2 separate regions of the Homo sapiens genome follow, and region 2 is linked to region 1. The links are contacts of gene promoters, found by promoter capture Hi-C in human tissues and cell types (Jung and others, 2019). All regions are on one chromosome and are shown on one strand. The core of a region is centred on a gene start or on the middle of the fragment in contact, and the rest is flanking DNA. Distances in the headings are between cores, read along the strand shown. Region 1 holds the start of MYH2 (myosin heavy chain 2). Region 2 overlaps MYH4 (myosin heavy chain 4).

Evidence for each region. Contacts are between HindIII fragments. The study calls those that stand out against the background at their distance.
Region 2: a contact is called between a fragment that was not itself captured here and the fragment with the promoter of MYH2 in region 1, in 3 of the 25 tissues and cell types used here (adrenal gland, neural progenitor cells and thymus).

Annotation. Positions count from the first base shown.
Region 1 is chr17:10,548,266-10,551,316 of GRCh38, reverse strand. MYH2 (myosin heavy chain 2) reads left to right here and starts at 1,659. Exons shown (of 40, transcript NM_017534.6): 1 at 1,659-1,681; 2 at 1,900-1,942. The region is part of intron 2 of MYHAS (myosin heavy chain gene cluster antisense RNA); the gene reads right to left. The HindIII fragment of the contact is 30,725 bases long and covers 1-3,051 here.
Region 2 is chr17:10,445,475-10,448,525 of GRCh38, reverse strand. It overlaps MYH4 (myosin heavy chain 4), which reads left to right. Exons shown (of 40, transcript NM_017533.2): 33 at 6-130; 34 at 400-708; 35 at 1,310-1,513. The region is part of intron 2 of MYHAS (myosin heavy chain gene cluster antisense RNA); the gene reads right to left. Among named protein-coding and RNA genes, the nearest start is that of MYH4, 23 kb to the left of the region's middle. RefSeq lists an enhancer at 488-1,687. The HindIII fragment of the contact is 4,935 bases long and covers 1-3,051 here.

The DNA of each region.
Region 1 (3,051 bases), core at 410-2,909:
CTAAGGGTTCCTCAGAGTGTTGACTGGGCTGCATTCGAGTCTGACAGCATAACCTATGATTCCTACAGGAGGCAAGCACAATGGTGGTATTTGCCATGTGCTGGATGGAACCAAGAAGGACTTCAGCAGCCAGCTGAGAATGTAATGCTGTCTTCTGCAGTCAAGAGACCCCTGGAATTGCTGGGAGGGTTGGTGTTCCAGGATGCCTGGGACAAGGCATGCAGCCCAGAGAGCATCCAGCCAGAGTAAAGGTGCCAGAAGGCTAAGTAGGTTGTACTGGAAGAGGTAGCCCACAGTAATAGCTCCAAACCTTAGACTTTGAATAGATCAGGTACTTGTGTGTATTTGTGACTGGTGTGCCCTTTGACCAATGCTGATGACTCCTTTAACCCATGAAGTTTTTGAAGATTAGAGCTTCATTATCCTTTGAAATATTTGATATGAAAGAGAGAGTTTAAATGGATTAAAAACTTATTTTCACTGTACGAGAATATTCAACATTATATTTTTCAATGAAGGAGAAAGAAGAACTGGTGAATTTTTAAAATACTCCAACAGTTGTAAATTACTTGGTTTTCCATTTTCATCCCTCCTTCTTGGACAAAAATCCCCGCTATGGTAATTATCAAGAACACAGATACTGTTTGTATCATTTTTGAAAATTTGATCTGGAAATTTGTGTCATATTTCAAGAATAAAGTCAGAAACAAACAAGTTTTATTTGTAGGATATAGCTCAAATTTTTCCTTAGGATTTTCAAGAAGATATTATTTGTAAGTTTCCGACATATTCAGTATTTAATATTTTCCTTAATGCTATGTGTATCATAGTTATTATATTTATATTACATAAAGGAATGTAAAAAAATTAAAAATATTCTCCCCAAGCCCTTTACAGATATAGACAAATCCCTTCCACATTACTCTAGCATGCTACACTAATATTGTCATTTTTTTCTCAGCGGGCTATGACACGAAAAAATGTTGAAAAGTACTCTCTAAAAACACCTCTGCTACTAGAAAATATTCAACCTTTTTTATTTCAGGCAAGTCAAATGGGTAGGGGGACAGGAAATGGTGTGCTAAGTAGAGGGAACAACTTTGGCAAAAGCAAAAAGGTGAGCGAGCAAGGAAATTCCTGAAACTACAGGAATATTGGAATAACAGAGAGGACCTTCTGTCTCTTTAAGTTGTTGAAGGCACATCGCTTAATTTTGCAGGGCTGGAAAGAAAGGACCAACAGGTAAAAATTAACTGTCACAAAATTAAAATACATATTTGTATTTTATTTATGTGACTTAACACGTGAAATATGCGAAAGTGATGCGAGGCAAGCCCGAATGCTGTGCCCAGCAAAGCCAAAAAGAAGTTCCGAGGGAAGCCAGGTATCCTGGCTGCCCAGCCACTGCCTTTATCCACCAGCTTGACTCTTTCAGATCATCTTCTCAAATTATCCATAGGAGATTTATCCACATACTCAATAAGAAAAATATTTCTAATTATATCCAACCATTCTTAATATGAATGAGAATTATGCGGGGACGCTAGATTGCCAAGAGGTATTTTGCCAAACAATTCCTTTTGACTTAAGAAAGAAGAGGCAGCTGCATTGTTTCCATAGCTATCCATATAAAAGAGCCCTTGGAATGAGGCTGACTCGTCCTGCTTTAAAAAGCTCCAAGGTAAGTGGGAGCAGGACGGGCCTTTCAAGAGGGACACTGGTCACACCGCCCAGTGTCAGCAGCAGCTGCTAGTTCTGGTACTGCTCCTTCTGGAACTGCACGTTTTACCTCTATGAATTTTGTTACTTCTGTTTACAATAGCAAGCCATGCCATAAATGGGATTTTTTCCCCCTCTTTTTGGTCAACTAATCAAGTGCTTTTCCCTTTTCTTTTATAGAACTGTCTCACTCCCAGGCTACATCTTCTCACTTGCTAACAAGGTAAGATTTGGACTAACCAGTTCCTGGAGGAGAATGCAAGAGGCTCTGGGATGGATTTCTGTCACTTAGCAACCTTTCAGAAAGTGCTTGTCTCAGTAAATACCCTTTAACAACTGTGCTTCAGGAAAGCGGTGAGAAAGGGAGGACTGTCCTTTCAGGACAATGCACACATCCTCATTTACGGCTCAAGCATTGGTGGGGTGACATTTGAGCAGGGGAATCGCTTTGAATAAATATATTGTCTGTGCAGGAAAAAAAGAGTCTACCCTCAGATTCCCTGGCTAAAAATCTCAAATTTGATAAAAATGTATCCTGCTGTTAGAATTCATTTAGTAAACATAATGTCCAACAATGTAAAATGGAAGTAAGACAATCCTTTCTTTAAACTTCTTAAAGCCCTTGTAAAAAGTCACCTTACACAATGCCGAGTGCTGTGGCATTTTTCTTATATATAATAGAGGTATTAATCTGCCCTCCCACTACTTACTGCATTTCTAAAGGGAGAGACTAGAAGAGACGATTCAAATGAGTTTCAAGTAATTTGATCATGTAATGACTGCGGTAGAATTATTTGCCAAACCTTTCATTCTACTGATACCACTGGCAACCTACAGATCACATAGAACGGAGCAAACAGGGCCTGCATGCTTCAAAGGAAAATTTGGAATAGTAAAGGGAGCCCTTAGATGTAGAAGAATGAGGTTAACGTTGGCTACTGTTTTTATCCCTAATTAGTTTAAGGGGGTTAAACTGATGAACTGTATTTAATATGCAAAAAATTATGTCAGAGAAACTATACTAAGCACCTAACCTAAAAGAAAAAAAGGTAAACAAAATTATAATCTCCAATAAGCCACTGAACTTCAACAAATCTGGCTGAACAGGTAAAGGAGGAAATAAAGTTCTTCTACATTACATTCAAGACATGGAATTTTGTGACATGATAATTCATGACATCTCATATATAAATGGTGGCCTGAACAATTTCAAATTACTTTCTCAGTCATCATTTAAACCTCTTTTTCAAAGTATCTTCACATATATCATGGGCTGTGAATTTAGAAAGGCAGAATTTATAATCCCTATTCTAAAGATGGAGTCACTTAGGC
Region 2 (3,051 bases), core at 357-2,856, 100 kb after region 1:
TACAGAGGAGATTTCTGACCTGACAGAGCAAATTGCAGAGGGTGGAAAGCATATCCATGAACTGGAGAAAGTAAAGAAACAACTTGATCATGAGAAGAGTGAACTACAGACTTCCCTAGAGGAAGCAGAGGTACATTTTTCATTTGCTTAGCTCTGCATTATAAATAAATTGAAAATTAATAGCAACTGAGATCTCTATCATGTTGCAAATCTTTAGGGAATAACACAAGTAATTCAGTGAAAAATACTGAATTGTACCTTGAGAATGCAGAGCTAATAGGCTACATTAAGACGTATGATAGTTTATGGGTTTTTTAATGCCTTCTTGGGGAAATTATCATAATGTGAAAGAAATAAAAAGCTCTTTAGGTAACCTAAATAAATGTTGCTTTTATTAAGGCATCTCTTGAGCATGAAGAAGGCAAAATTCTTCGCATTCAACTTGAGCTAAATCAGGTGAAATCTGAGATTGACCGAAAAATTGCTGAAAAAGATGAAGAACTCGATCAGCTAAAGAGGAACCATCTCAGAGTTGTGGAGTCAATGCAGAGTACACTGGATGCTGAGATCAGGAGCAGAAATGATGCTCTGAGGATCAAGAAGAAGATGGAGGGAGATCTTAATGAAATGGAAATCCAGCTGAACCATGCCAACCGCCAGGCTGCTGAGGCACTAAGGAATCTTAGAAACACACAAGGAATACTGAAGGTATGCTGGGGTAAATACACATAGTGTTGTACAGTCTCAGTGCTACTGTGTAACTCAAATTTTAATGTTTTACGAGGACTATGTGTCATAAATCACCTAAGCAACATGGTAATCAGTTCAAAGTTCAAAGTTATACACACACAACTGAAAAAGAGCTTAATTCTGGAAGGCCCAGGACAGAGTTTGCTTTGTTATCTGCAGAGAAGCACTGTGGTGAGGGGTAGGGAGATAGAGGAAGTGATGAAAGAGTTTGGCTACATGCCACTGCTTAAATCACTTCATTAATCTGGACTTCATTTGCTTAATATGTAAAATAGCACCACTGGACTCGCTGAAGTCTAAGGATACTTTCCTGATCCAAAATTTTGTAGAGCTAGCCATGGTATTTTTTAATGATTCAGGGTCTAAAATAATAAAACATCATGTTCTTTTGAGTAGAACTGCAACCCTCAGCTACAAAGAATTTATTATTAAAGGTACTTGCCGATTGCTCCTATCTAATCATACTCTAAGTCATTAAGATCAAAGAGTGTACATGACCATAAGTTTGCATTTGCTTTAAGTGCAGCATGAGTAAGAGGCTTTTTCTCTTTCTGTGTAGGACACTCAGCTACATTTGGATGATGCCATCAGAGGCCAAGATGACCTTAAGGAACAACTGGCAATGGTTGAGCGCAGAGCTAACCTGATGCAGGCTGAAGTTGAAGAGCTCAGGGCATCCCTGGAACGGACTGAGAGAGGCAGGAAAATGGCAGAGCAAGAGCTTCTGGATGCCAGTGAACGTGTGCAACTTCTGCACACTCAGGTGAGGTTCAAGACTATGGTTTAGAAAATGTACTCCCTGAAGCTGAAGATAATTTGAGAAGATAAGCTTGTTTATAAAGTAAAAAGTAATCTTCGTCCCTTCCTGGAGCTCTGGAAAATGTACAGGGTGCTGTAAGGATTTACTGGGACCTAGCTGGTTCACGAGTATATTTATGGGCTGGCATAATCATGTTGAGTTGAAATAATCTGGAATTCTAGAAACTTTTATTTAAAAAGCACAGAAGACCATCTACAAATAAACATACACACAACATTTGTAGCTGTCTTGTCTTATGCAACTCTAAGCTACAAAAAGATAGGCAAATAAAATAGAGGAGAAAAACAAAAAGCCACTAAATAATATTTACGTATCACATATGCACAGAATGCTAACCTCATGGGATACAAAGAGAAGCTCTTTAGTTCAAATTCATGGAGGCCATTATTAATACTAGTTAGCATTTGTTGTATATAGTGAATTTGTTAAATAAATGGTGGTATATCCTCACAATGGCTAATATGTAACCACTGTAGTATGAATTTATTGCCATGGGAAGATGTTTATATTATAGTAAGTTAAAAAAGCAACTTAAAAATAATATAGGCTGTGTGATCTTTTTTCCCGTATAAACATATAGGAAACATCCAGAAAGATAAATAAAAGTTTATCCTTTATCTCTGGTGAGAGCACAGTAATTATTTTTTGTTTCTTGTCTGCTAATTTGTATGTTCTACTATCTTTTACAATAAATATATAGTACTGTATACTTCAGAAAGTTGCACTATATAAACATAACTATTATAGAAGTGTTAAAATTGCATGCTTTATATAATTTTAAAATCAAATTAATATGCAACATTTTTCTTATTAACAGTATCTGAAGTTGACTATTCCAAACACCATCAACTTGCCAAAAACAGAAGGGATTCTTGGCTCATTTTTATCCCAACAAGACTACTATTTTTTTTTTTTTTTTTTTTTTTTTGAGAAGGGGTCTCACTCTGTCACCCAGGCTGGAGTGCAGTGGTGCGATCTCGGCTCACAGCAAGCTCCGACTCCCATGTTCACGCCATTCTCCTGCCTCAGCCTCCCGAGTAGCTGGGACTACAGGCGCCCACCACCACACTCGACTAATTTTTTGTATTTTTAGTAGAGACGGGGTTTCACCGTGTTAGCCAGGATGGTCTCGATCTCCTGACCCCGTGATCTGCCCACCTCGGCCTCCCAAAGTGCTGGGATTACAGGCATGAGCCACTGCGCCCAGCCAACAAGACAACTATTTATGCATTTATAAATATGGAGTCAACCAACATGAGTTAATAGCTAAAAATTACTGATTCATTTTAAATGAGCTGTGGTGTGGTGCTCCATGGTACAGCACTTTGAGTTTTGTGGGCTGTGTTTCATGCTTACAAATGGCAATGGTAATAGTTGAATATGTTTGACATCAAAAATTAAATTTAGAAGTTTGATTAAAGAGCTATATATAGAAAGGAGAAAAGGCATAAACTTAGAATTATCTTCTAATTTGGTTTTTA